Linked DNA regions of Homo sapiens: regions 1 and 2 are each linked to region 3. The links are contacts of gene promoters, found by promoter capture Hi-C in human tissues and cell types (Jung and others, 2019). All regions are on one chromosome and are shown on one strand. Each heading gives the region's core, a stretch centred on a gene start or on the middle of the fragment in contact. The rest is flanking DNA. Distances are from core to core; before and after follow the strand shown. Region 1 overlaps EPG5 (ectopic P-granules 5 autophagy tethering factor). Region 2 overlaps EPG5 (ectopic P-granules 5 autophagy tethering factor). Region 3 holds the start of PSTPIP2 (proline-serine-threonine phosphatase interacting protein 2).

Region 1 (4,684 bases), core at 541-3,040, 210 kb after region 3:
TGGTGAGATCTACGTATTTGGTTTTCCATGAGCAAAGGTTGGAAAATAAAGACTGACTAGGCATGTTCTGATAAGTTACTCTTTCACACCAGCTTCAGATTTGTCTATTTATTAAGTATTGCTCTGCTATGCTGCTGTACCCAGGGAACTCACAGTAGTTCCTGCTTTTACTCTTAGTAACCGTGTGCCGCATACTACCTGTACAAACTTAACACCATCCAGAGCCTTCCTTCCAGTCCCTTGCAGTCAGCTACTAGCACTGTAAAATCTGCCTGGAGAACAGCTAAGATTGAAGCACTGTTATTCTCCTGATCACATGGATAGTACCTTTCTGGCAGCCATTCTTGAGTGTGTCTATATTCCTTTCAGACATGGACAGCCAGACCCGCCACATGGCCCTCAGCAGCCTCTTTATGGAAGTCCTGATGATGATGAACAACGCGACTATTCCAACAGCAGAGTTCCTTCGGGGCAGTATCCGGACCTGGATTGGCCAAAAAATGCATGGGCTGGTGGTGCTGCCCCTTTTAACAGCAGCCTGCCAGAGCCTGGCGTCCGTCCGCCACATGGCTGAGACTACAGAAGCCTGCATCACTGCCTACTTCAAAGAAAGTAAGAGGAGGTCATCTTACGCTCCATTGTATTGGTCTTTTCCAGAAAGATGAAAGCATTGTCATCAGCAGATATGTTTCCAGACTCTTCCCAGTGAGGGATTTGCCATTCTAATTTTCTGCTCTACAAATGTTGTGGATGTTTCTGAATATACGTATTTTTCATAAAGATCTGCAGTTAGCATGAGAACCTGTGGCCATGTCTGTTGGTACAATCACATTTCAAGGGAGAAAAGCTCTAATCCACTTCACGTTAGTTTTGGAGGGTCAGACCAACCTGTTATGATATGCAAATTGTGTTGTGTCACAGGCCAAGTCATAGTCCTCAGAACAAATGCTATATACCAGGATCTATATAATCATAGTCCATGAGGTTAATTTTCCCTGTTTTTGTCACTTTTGGTAAAAGGAGTTTTCATAGAAGTTTTTAAAATTGCTGCTTATCAGACCTTTTAAAGCATTATGAAGGGCTCATTCATTGTCACCCCTCCTTTTTAAAAATCTGTTTTACTTTCTACCTCTAAACTGTCAGACTCTGGAAGCGGCTTAGTCTGATTAAGAATTGCTGAGAACAGCACTTCTCAACTCTGATATCCAGATAACACATCACACTGCAGTCAGTGGGAGAGAAGCAGTAGTGAGAAGGAGGGTATCGGAGCAAGGATCCAGGAAGTGCCCACAACCTGCCATCTGCCCTGTCCTGACCACCCATGAACAGCACATGCCCACCCATGGAGGTGGTGTGCATGTCACCATGCCACCCCACCCTCGCTCCCCCAAAGAGTGGAGAACCATTAGGATAACACTGCTATTCCAAACTCATGTGTGTTACTAAAAATCAAACAGTTTCAATACATGAGTTAAACTAAGCTTTGATAAGTAAAACTACTCACAGATTGAGTGATAACAGTTTCCCGTCGGAAAGCATAAGTGTTCATATGTTCTTAAAAAGGGTATTAAAGTTAAAATTCTTAACTGACCAGGACAGGCAGTGTCTACATGTGGTTTTAAGGATCATAATGTGATAGAAAGGTGATTTATACGTATGCAGCCCTGAATTCTGATTTCTTAAACCTTTCTGGTGGCTACGCTGGGGACAGGCATCTGGCCTGAGGGCTATCCAGTCTGAGCCCTGAGGTATATTTGACTTTTGTAGCCTCCAAGGTCACTGTAAGAAAGGTTGTCTTGACATGAAGCTTATTATCTCATAGGTTGCTATGTCAAAAAAAAAAATCATGAAGCTTAAAGTGAAAATATTTGCTAGAGTTGTCAAGTAATTGGATTCTTGCCTATATCTTGATGTCTCTTCTTCATGTTCTTAGGCCCTCTCAATCAGAATTCAGGATGGGGACCCATTCTGGTATCCCTTCAGGTTCCCGAGCTCACCATGGAAGAGTTCCTGCAGGAGTGCCTCACCTTGGGCAGTTACTTGACTCTTTACGTCTACTTGCTTCAGTGTTTAAACAGCGAACAGACTTTAAGGAATGAAATGAAAGTGCTGCTCATCTTAAGCAAGTGGCTGGAACAGGTGTACCCAAGGTACGTTGGCCCTCAGGCTGTTACATCAAACTTGCTGTATTTGGTTAACTTGGAATTTAGAGCTTAAGTCTAGCTTTAAGTACACAGAACCAAGAGGTGCATAAAAAATAAGGTTTTAAGGTATGGTGACAGTTGTTTTGGAAAGATTCTTAATTAATAGGCTAATCTTCTGAGCAGATTTTTTGTTTCCTAAAACTGGCACTTTGAAACACCAAGCATCAGTTTCCTTACCAGTTAAGTGGAGATAGTAATCCCTACCTGATAGGGCTGTCATGAGGATGAAGTGGAAGAACACGAAGTTCATCACAGTGGCGTGTAGTAGGTGTTCCACAGATGGCGGTGGTTACAATCCCATGGCTCTATTAACATCAGCCGTTAGCCTGTGCTTTTGAAGTACTGAATGTCTCCTATCCTTCAAACTCTGATGTGGACTTGCAGTTAAATGGGAGTGGGAAAAATTTACTTCTAATTTTATTTTCCTCCGGTGCCTCCCCTAGCTCCGTGGAGGAAGAGGCAAAGCTGTTTTTGTGGTGGCACCAAGTCCTTCAGCTCTCCCTCATTCAGACAGAGCAGAATGACTCCGTCCTGACAGAATCTGTCATTCGAATTCTGCTCTTGGTTCAGAGCAGGCAGAACCTCGTGGCTGAGGAGAGACTCAGCTCTGGGATCCTGGGGGCAATTGGGTTTGGCCGGAAGTCGCCTTTGTCTAACAGGTAAGGAAGCGCCTTTCTAACACTGTTGTTCTAAATAGGCCTCAGACATCTGTACCTACTTACAGGTTGTGATATACTTCAGTAGGTTTTTCGACTTAGGATCTAGGTTCTCCAGAAAGATTAATGGAAAAAAAAAAAGAAAAAAAAAACAGAGCCTGATTACATCTTTACATTCTAAAAAGCATTTTTATTTTTTCTTACCTTTAAAAAAAATTTTCAATTCAAACAGTATTTTTAATAGTATCTCCTGTTGTGTTTGGACTTTGTAACCTAACTGCACTACTGATTTCTTTTTGGTTTTGAGCTAGTCATGGACGGTATGCGAGCATAGTTTAAAAGCCAAGTCAGCTGGGCACTTGAGGCGTTCAGGGAAATCCAGAACCTGTGAGGGACTCAGTCTAGTGAACTGTAAAGTCGTCAAGCTGGGTTAAGATCTGTTGGTGGCCAGGCGCGGTGGCTCACACTTGTAATCCCAGCACTTTGGGAGGCCAAGGCAGGCAGATCACTTGAGGTCAGGAGTTCGAGACCAGCCTGGCCAACATGGTGAAACCCCGTTTCTACCAAAAAATACAGAAATTAGCCGGGCATGGTGATACATGCCTGTAGTCCCAGCTACTCTGGAGGCTGAGGTGGGAGAATCGCTTGAACCCGGGAGACAGAGGTTTCAGTGAGCTGAAATTATGCCACTGCACTCCAGCCTAGGTGACAGAGTCAGACCCTGTCTAAAAATAAATAAATAAATAAATAAATAAACACAAATATAAAAATTAGCTGGGTGTGGTGGCAAGCACCTGTAGTCCCAGCTACTCAGGAGGCTGAGGCAGGAGAATTGCTTAAACCCAGGAGGCAGAGGTTGCAGTCAGCCGAGATCACACCATTGCACTCCAGCCTGGCCAACAGAGCAAGACTCTGTCTCAAAAAAACAGAAAAAATGAATAAAAGGCCTGTTGGTAAGAAGGATAAGTAATGAGAAGCAAGTCTGGATTTTTGTTGCAAAAAATCCCAAGGCATGGAAGAATTTGCCATTAGCTCCTGTTTTCTCTCATAATACTTACTTACATCATGGTTTCCTTTTCAAGCCCTTGTCAGTGTTGAAAAGAGTTTGCAAACTTGATGATGTCAGCATTCTTGTGGAATAGCCCATTGTGATGTTGTAACTTTGGGACTCACTCATTCCAAACCAGTTAACGTCATGTTTTTTTGTTTGCGGTGGAAGATAGCAGGACTGCGAGATTTTGTTTTACTTAAATTTGGCTTGCGTCTTTTATTCTTTTTAATTGTGATAAAATACACATAACTTAAAACTTTCCATGGTAACCATTTTTATATGCACAATTCAGTGACATTTAGAACATTGACAATGTTGTTGTAGCCATCACCACAATCTAGCTTCAGAACATTTTCATCACTCCAAAAGGAAGCCCTACACTCATTAAGTAGTCACCTCCATTCCCTTTAATCCCCGTGTCTCTAGTAACCACTAATTGACATTATGACTTTATGTATTGAATCCTATTTTGGACATTTCATATAAATGGAATCATATAATGTGTGGCCCCTTATGTTGGACTTTTTTCACTTAACATAAAGTTTTCAAGGTTCATTTATGTTGTAGCATGTATCCATACTTCGTTTGTTTTTATGGCTGAATAATATTCCTTTGTATTCCACATTTTGTTTATCCATTCATTAGCTGATGGACATTTGGATTGTTTCAACCTTTTGGCTATTGCAGATAATGCTGCTATGAGCATTTGTATACCAGTTTTTGTTAGAACATCTGTTTTTAGTTTTTTGTGTATACCTAGGAGCAGAATTGCT
Region 2 (3,385 bases), core at 860-3,359, 190 kb after region 3:
GAAAGGACTGGCTTACTCTGCAGACGACAGATCTGGCAAAGCAAGGAGGTTGTGCCTTATGATATGTTTAATATGACAGTTTGTTTCTCTGTAGTTCCAAACATTTTGGGAGTTTTTCCTTTCTAAGTCTTTTACTCTTGTTTTTTGCAAATTAATTTTATCCATATGTAATGATAGACTTTATTTATATTTACCAAGGGAAAGAGCAGCATTACAATCTCCACATTCCTGCCACTTCTGTTCCCCCTTCTTACAATTTTCTATAGCAATTTTAGAGTTTAGAGGAGAAATAAATAGGGTAGGCTTTTTTATTTTTGGAGTTTCGCTAGGCAGTAATTTTATTAAAATTTGATAAATGAGATAGTATTTACTTTTTAATGCAAACTTCATACGGTTTATAGATATAATAGCAAATGAAATTTTGCTTTATACCAAATTTTTGTGTTACATCATAGAAATAGTTTAATGGATAAGTTAATGATCCAGTGTATCGGGTTGCCCAAAGGACCTTGAAATGTGCAGCCTCTCATTTTGAAAGCACTTCAAGCTTTAATTGTTTCCCACAGAGGCAGGTTGCAGGGTGGGTGGAGAATGGTGGAAGGGAAATACATTTGTACAAATGCCAATGAATATGTGCATAGCTAATTTTTTCTCTAAGCTTTTAAAGTTTCAAATAGTGTGTGTTGTGGATTTTTCCCTGAAATCTTTTAAAGAGATTGTAAACCATTTATATTAGACCACTATTGACTGGAATTTAGCTAGAAATTTGTTCTTACCAAGAAAAGTAATTCAGACTTAAGAATAACAATATGATACCTCTCAGATGTCATGAGCTTCAGCCTCCTGGTTTCTTTCTCCTCCTTGGCTACCATGTTGATGTTCCCTTGGGAGCATCCTTTGCTCTTCTACTGCATTCATTCCCTCTGGGTGAGCCCGTTGTTTTCCCTGATGTCACTGCCACCTTCTAGGCATGTGTGATTTCCAGTGATAGCTTAATTTTGGGGCGCTGTCCTAAGATCCAGACCCCAGTGGCCATTGGACACAGACTGGCACTGTCCCCAGGTACCTCACACTGGACATATTGTAACTGGCCTCACCATCGTTCTCCTCAGACCTGCTCCATGAACCTGTTATTTTAGTTGATTCTCATGTTCGCTCTGGGTGGAAAGTACTTTAGGAGATATTATTCCTGTCCTGTGGGATGGGAAGTTATTAAGTAGCAGAGTTGGGACTAGTTCAGAATATGGGCTGCTGGACTTGTCCAGCGTTTCCATGCTGCCTCTGGGTCTTGGTTTCGGGGAATTGGGGGGCCGGTAGGAGACTCCTTCTGGAGAGCCCAGGCCCTGAGTTGCCTTCATCATGTGGTTTCCGTTGTCCTGTGACTGTTGTTTCTGTCACACTCATAGATAGCTGTGGTCCCCCAGCCAGGAGAGGCACTGCCACCATTCCCCAGTCAGGGTCGGAGGGTCAGGTCTCCCACCCCTCTGAGTGTAGCTCCACCAGCTTCAGCAGCGCTCACTCCCAGCAGGGTTACCAGGAACCAGGAAAACCAAATGTGCAGGTGGCCAGTTCTTCTCTTAGGTTCTCTTTACTTGGGCCTCCTCACCCCAGATATCCCTGTGAGTTTGTTTTGGATTTTGGCTTTATTTTTATTCCTTTATAAGGTGCTCATATTCTTTGTTACAAGTTAAAATATTCCTTTCGGGAAAGCCACTGACTTGCTCTTCCTGTCCCTGCTGGCAGGCTCCGCGGAGCAGCTTCTGAGCCCCGAGTGTTGGAAGGCCACTCTGAGAGCCCTGGGCTGCTGCGCCCCCAGCTGCCAGCAGGGGGCAGCGTCCACCGAGGGCGCCGTGCTTCCCAGCTCTTCTGATGCTCTCTTGTCAGACAAGCAGGTGTGTAGCCTTTGGTCTCTGACGTGTTTGTGCATTTCTTTTTATTTCCCTTGCTATTCATTTTTTAAGCAGTTGGAAAACTTGTGCATTATCTTTAAGAGCCATGTGTTTTTCTTTGTGTTAAGTGCTTTGGTTCCCTCGTGTCCCCTTTTTCCAGATGGCTCACCCCATTCCCCTGAGTCTAATTCTTGCCCATGTATCCAAGACAAGGGCAGGCACTCCCCTGTAGATCTTTCCTGCCCACCCTAGCCCATCGGACTCCACCCTGAGACCTCTGGTCGGGTTTCTATGATGCAGTGTCCCATGGAGCTCTGGGTTTTATCCTTTCTGTTTGATATGCATTTGCATGAGAATTTATTTGAAATAATGGTTCCACTGATTTAGAAAAGGTTTGAAACCCACTGATGGCCTGGCGCGGTGGCTCATGCCTGTAACCCCAGCACTTTGGGAGGCCAAGGTGGGCGGATCACTTGAGGTCAGGGATTCGAGACCAGCCTGGGCAACATGGTGAAACCCTGTCTCTACTAAAGAATACAAAAATGAGCTGGGCATGGTGGTGCACGCCTGTAGTCCCAGCTACTCAGGAGGCTGAGGTAGGAGAATCGCTTGAACCCAGGAAGCGGAGGTTGCGATGAGCCAAGATCGTGCCACTGCACTCCAGCCTAGGCGACAGAGCAAGACTCTACCTCAAAACAAAAACAAAAACAAAAAACCATTGATTTATTTCTCATATGCTTTATATTTTTGCCACTCTCTTATAAAGTCAAAGACCTACTATATACACCCCCATCACAGTGTATCATAACACTTTACTAAAATACATATTTAGTAAGCATTTTTTGACTAGTTGTCTCTTCCAGGTAATGGAGACTATACAGTGGCTTTCAGACTTTTTTTATAAGCTTCGGTTATCCAAGATGGACTTTAAAAGCTTTGGTTTATTCTCAAAATGGAGTCCTTATATGGCTGATGTGAAGACATTCTTGGGCTACCTTGTGAAAAGGCTGATTGACTTAGAAATGACCTGTTTGGCCCAAGACCCAACTGCCAGCAGGAAAACAGGTAATATACTTCTCATGCGATGTGGAGCTAGGTGTTTGGACTTTCCATTAAGAGAGATTTAAATAGGCACATTAAGAGATTTATATTGAGTGTCAAGGAGAGAAAGTAGAAATATATAGAACAGGCATGAGCCCATATATGTGTCATATATGTCACAATATATGAATGGATATATTCATTACATAGTGAATGTAGGGTGCTTGCTATAGCTTGTCTCTGCCCCTCCTTTGCAGGTTGGGGTACAGAGAGGTTTCAGTTTCCAACCCTTTCTGTCATTTGTCTTACTAAGATGGGGTTCTAAATCTTATACATTTATCTTTTTTAAAAGTGTGTTATAAAATTATCCATGATATTGTATTGTAATACAAATTCTTCAATTCAGAGAAATTCCAGTGTAGCCAATGAAAACGTAAACATACATAGTTACACTA
Region 3 (4,877 bases), core at 903-3,402:
AGAGATGGGGTTACATCATGTTGGCCTGCCTGGTCTTGAACTCTTGACCTCAGGTGATCCACCTGCCTTGTCCTCCCAAAGTGCTGGGATTACAGGCATGAGCCACTGTGCCCAGCCATCTCTTCCTCTTCTTATAAAGCATAAAGCCACCAGTTTCATCTCCTGATAACCCATTAATCTACTAACCCATTAATCCATGAATGGGACTAGTGGCCCTCGTGACCCAATCACCTCTTAAAGATCCTACCTCTCTCAATACTGTCTCATTTCAGATTAAGTTTCAACAAGAATTCTTGGAGGGGGCAACATTCAAACCACAGAAGTTAGTAAAATATCCTAAATATGTCCCTTGGATATAGCACACACTTTGTTTGTTTTTTTACTCACAATACCTGCCCCAGAGATGAGCTGTTTGAGGAATGAAGAATATTTTCCAGCAGCGTGGATGACCATTTGCAATTAAAAACTTTGTCACCAGATGGCGGAAGAGGGTTAAAATTCAGGGAGCTTAGAGTCTGAGTCGCGAAAATCAAGCACAATGTACTGTGAGAGCTTGTGAAACGTTCTAATAACTTAAAATTATACATGTATTAAAAATTAAAATGTGACAATTAGAATTGTATCTAAACTATTTTTCCAGAATATTTAAAACTTCCAGGAAAAACCTTAGTGGTGTCTTCAGCTCTCCCGCTTCTATGTCCCCAGTTTGTGCCATTTCTTACCCCCTGCAGTTAAGCCTAGCTTCCTAGTGCCTACCACGTCCTCTGCTGCCCCTTGATGGTTCTGCCAGGCTTCTCTGCCTTCCTTCTAATCTCACTGCTTTCAAAGGATATGAGCAAGTACGTAAATGGATGCATCCCTTGGAGATGCTTGGTGGCTGGAGGCCACCTCTCCATCTTTGCAGTTGTGGATGACTTTATTGGTGGGAGTTCATCTGAGTGGGGCTGGCTGCAGTTTTATGGAGCAGAACTTGTTCCAGGTGCTTCACATAATTCTAGCAATTGCCCTTTCACTGTGTCTGGGTGTAGCTAGAACCTGCTCCAGGGGTGAGTGCTTGCTTCTCCAGGCTGGGCTGGTGCCAGTCTTGGCAACCTTGACCTTTATCCTCCCCACTTTGAGCACCTATTCCTCTGCCCAGGATGGATCTGCCCCAGGAAGGATGTCTGTCTTTGCATCTATTTAGAAGGGCAGAGCTCTAACCTTGAGCTCTTCATCCCTTAAATAAACTGTGATCTTGGGCAAGCCATTCAACCCCTCTGGGCCTCAGGTTGGGCTTCGGGCCTGTCGCACCAGGCAGTACTTTGTCATAAGCCCTGCATTACTATTAAAAGTCATGGCAAAAACCGCAATTACTTTTGTACCAATCTACTACAATGCAGAGAGGGGTCTGACCTGCCCTGGGGTTTTATTTGTGAGGGTGGAAGAGTGGAGGGAGAAGAAGGAATCTTGGGCCCCTCTTGCTGGGGTGGAATGGGCAGGGAAGGGTCTTGCCTTTTGAGAATGGAAAGGGAGTCAGAGAGCGGCTGAGCTCCTGGAAGCCCTGTTAGGACACCACCAAGTGACTAGAGTCAAGGGGAAACAGCAGAGATGACCTCTCCATGACATTTTAGACTAAAACGTGACCCCATTCATTAAAAACACCTGCAACAACAAAAAGTAAAATAAAAAATGAACCGTCCCCCAGGGCCTGATCTGCAGCAGGTGCCGGTGGGGCCCGCCGTGAAGCCAAGGCGTCTGCGGGAGTTGTCGGCCCCAGGCCTTCTGTAGCTTAAACCGGGTCCTCGCGACCATCTGATCAGATCCCGTCTATCACCCCGCAGAGCCTGGATTTCGTGCTGTCCAGGGGGCCTTGTGGGCAGGAACCCAAGCCAGGACCAGTTATTTCCAATACCCAAAGACTTCCAGAAGGAGGCAGCTAGCTTCGGGCTGATATATTGATCGTGGCCCGACGCTGTGGGGCTTTAAATGGGCCTGGGTCCGGGTGCGGGCTGCAGCCCCTGGCCGGGTGAGCGCCGAGGGTCCCGCCCAGGTCTCGCGCAGGGAGCGCAGAGCGCCGACGGCGGCCGTCGCAATCGGGAGTGGTTTAGGACCCGGGGGCGGCTTCCCTGCGCGAGTGTGGAACGCAGAAGTTGAGTCTGCGGAGCCGCGGGCAGTGGCAGTCAGGCCTCCCCGCTCTGTGCTACCTGCGGCCCGGCTCTCCTCCGCGCCCCCACTCGCGCTGCGATGACGCGCTCACTGTTCAAGGGAAACTTTTGGGTAAGTCGTGGGGCCGACAGCGGATCGCGGGGCTCAGGACCCGGCCCGGGCGGGAGGCCAACGCGGCGGGCGTGGGGGGCTCCCCAGCTCCGGCGCCACTCGGTGACCGCGCGCCCGGGGGCTTGGCGGAGCTCGCGCGTGAAGGGATCGGGGCCCCAGCCCCACTGCTCGAGGGGCAGACTTGGAGCGGACGCCGGGCTGCTGTTCCCTCTCTGTCCCCCGCTACCCACCGCGTGCCCGCGAGTCCCGGGGGCTCGGACTCCAGGGCCCACCCTCTGCCGCCCGCGCCCCCAGCAGCGCGTGCTCCTGAGGACGCAGAGAGCCGAGACACCTTAGAGTCAGGACATCAACCCCTCCTCTCACAGGCGAAGCAGAGACCCTTAGGGAGGCGAGACCCGTCCGGGGAGAGTCTCTGCCGGTCCCTGGAGCTGAGCCGTGAGAGGATCTGGGGGGATCTGGTGTGGGGGCTTGTGAGCTTTACCGGGTTGACAGCAGCAGCTGCCCCCCGGGATCGTCCTTTCCAGGAAACGTACAGCATAGAGGGCTTCCCTTTGCTGGAGCTTTCCCTGTTCTACAGCCTTGTTTCCCGAGCCCCCTCCCCAGGCCATTGCCCCAGCCCTTCCGTCCAGGCCCCATAGCGGGGCTGATGGTGTGGGAGACCCTATAAGCTGGAGGGGGTACCCCACCCAGCCCGGTAGGGCCAGCCCAGCCTGGAGGGAGCAGGTCTGCCTGTCCCCCTCCTCTGTCTAGTCCTCTTCCCTCTGTCCTCTCACTCCCCAGGTGCCCCTCAAGGTCCATGCCCCCTCATTCAGAGGAGCTGTCCTCATCCCTTTAAGACAGGAGCAGGAGGCTGCAAACCTCAAAGTTGACCGCAGCTGCCAAGGGGCCCTGACTCCTTACTGGGGCTCCTGCTTGCCTCCCCCCACCACCCACCCAGGTAGCTTCACAGCTGCCTAGATGGTCCCTCTACCCCACGTGGGCTGCAGGGTAGAGAAACCTGGCTGGGGACCTCAGGGACACAGTTGAGACTGTGCCTGTGAGTCCCTTCACTGGAGTTTGTGAGGTCCTTCTGGGGCACTACTCACCCTAGGGTGCAGGGTGGTGGCAGCCTCACAGAGGAACCAAGGGCACCACAGATGGCTCTCACGGGAGGCTTGCGAGTTTTTCAGGTAGAATGGAGGACTGGGGGATCCCATGGCAGGCACTGTGGGAAAAAGGCTCTGTATAATACAAACTGGAGAATGAGATGTGGGCCCCAGAAATAAGGAAGTCAGCAGAGGAACTGGTTCGTGGAGACATAAGGAGAAGGAGGCAGACGTGATACTAACAGTATTTAGTTCAGGCACAGTGGCTCATGCCTGTGATCCCAGCACGTTGGGAGGCCGAGGTAGGAGGATTGCTTGAGGCCAGGAGTTCGAGACCACCCTGGGCAACATAGTGAGACTCTGTCTGTCTCTACAAAAAAATCTTAAAAATTAGCTGGGCATGGTGGTGCATGCCTGTAGATATAGTTACTTGGGAGGCTGAGGCAAGAGGATTGCTTGAGGCCAGGAGTTTGAGGTTGCAGTGAGCTATGATCACATCACTGCACTCCAGCCTGGACGACAGAGTGATTTGTGTTTGTCTCAAAAACGAACAAACAAACAAACCCAACCAAACAACACAATCCTCAGTATTTAGCCACAGTTTTAGCACTGGCAAGGCTAAGGCCAGGCGGGCGCTAAGCCCCTCCCCACCAGCCTCCACCCCTCAGCCCCATGCCAGGGATGCTGGATACGGGGAGGTCTTAGCGGAGAGGGTGACAGGGTGAAGACAGGGTTCCAGGCCACAGAGTTTGCAGTATTTTAATATCTTCACAGCCAGTACAAACATGTCAGTGAGTACTCTCTAATGTCTGGTGGGTGACATGCAGGGTTTGAGGGGCTGGTGGAGATGGCCCCGCCCCTTGGGAAGATGTCCAGTTTTGAGAGCTTACCGAACAGCATGAAGCCTCTGAGGTGGGCTGCCCGGGCTTGAATCCAGTTCTGCCCCTTACTAGCTAGGTGACCCTGGGCAGCCTGCTTCCGCCCCCAAGCCTCAGTTTTTCCATACATAAAAATGGGGATAATAACAGTGTCTACTCCTTAGGACCGTTGGGAGGATTAAACTTGAGAGTTTAGTACAGTGCCTGACACACAGAGAGCACCTATAGTTGCCAGCTATTATTATCAGCAGTAGAGGTGACAAGTAAAAGAAGTGAGTGATGGTTATTCAAGGAGAAAGAATGAAGAGATCGGAAGTCCACAAAGAAGCACTCTTAGTGCATGCCTCTATTGATGGAGGAGGAGAAAGGGGACAGAGAAATAGAGGAAGAGATGAAGGGATACAACCAGGAAAGAGCTATCACAGGCCCAAGAGAGGGACATTCCAAGGAAGGTGAGAGGACTGTGGTCAAACGTGTTTGTACATGTTCCTGAAAAAGTATGAGTCAATACACACTTCATAAATGAATGTATTTAAATGCTTCATGAAAATATTTATTTAAAGAAATCTTCGATGAATCTGCTTCAAAAGGGAATAATCAGTGTTTAAAACTGGGCTTGGAGCTGGCGTGTGCCTGTAGTCCCAGCTACTAAGGAGGC

What was found. Contacts are between HindIII fragments. The study calls those that stand out against the background at their distance.
Region 1: a contact is called between a fragment that was not itself captured here and the fragment with the promoter of PSTPIP2 in region 3, in 2 of the 25 tissues and cell types used here (lymphoblastoid cells and spleen).
Region 2: a fragment that was not itself captured here is called in contact with the fragment with the promoter of PSTPIP2 in region 3 in 1 of the 25 tissues and cell types used here (heart right ventricle).

Annotation. Positions count from the first base shown.
Region 1 is chr18:45,856,032-45,860,715 of GRCh38, reverse strand. It overlaps EPG5 (ectopic P-granules 5 autophagy tethering factor), which reads left to right. Exons shown (of 44, transcript NM_020964.3): 40 at 370-612; 41 at 1,934-2,150; 42 at 2,648-2,863. Among named protein-coding and RNA genes, the nearest start is that of SIGLEC15, 33 kb to the right of the region's middle. The HindIII fragment of the contact is 4,070 bases long and covers 1-3,825 here.
Region 2 is chr18:45,878,582-45,881,966 of GRCh38, reverse strand. EPG5 (ectopic P-granules 5 autophagy tethering factor) reads left to right here. Exons shown (of 44, transcript NM_020964.3): 32 at 1,744-1,892; 33 at 2,753-2,954. Among named protein-coding and RNA genes, the nearest start is that of SIGLEC15, 55 kb to the right of the region's middle. The HindIII fragment of the contact is 3,011 bases long and covers 604-3,385 here.
Region 3 is chr18:46,069,535-46,074,411 of GRCh38, reverse strand. It overlaps PSTPIP2 (proline-serine-threonine phosphatase interacting protein 2), which reads left to right and starts at 2,152. Exons shown (of 15, transcript NM_024430.4): 1 at 2,152-2,256. The coding sequence starts at 2,224. RefSeq lists silencers at 1,857-2,016, 2,147-2,196, 2,237-2,616 and enhancers at 1,746-2,247, 3,467-3,526, 3,567-3,666. The HindIII fragment of the contact is 22,245 bases long and covers 1-4,877 here.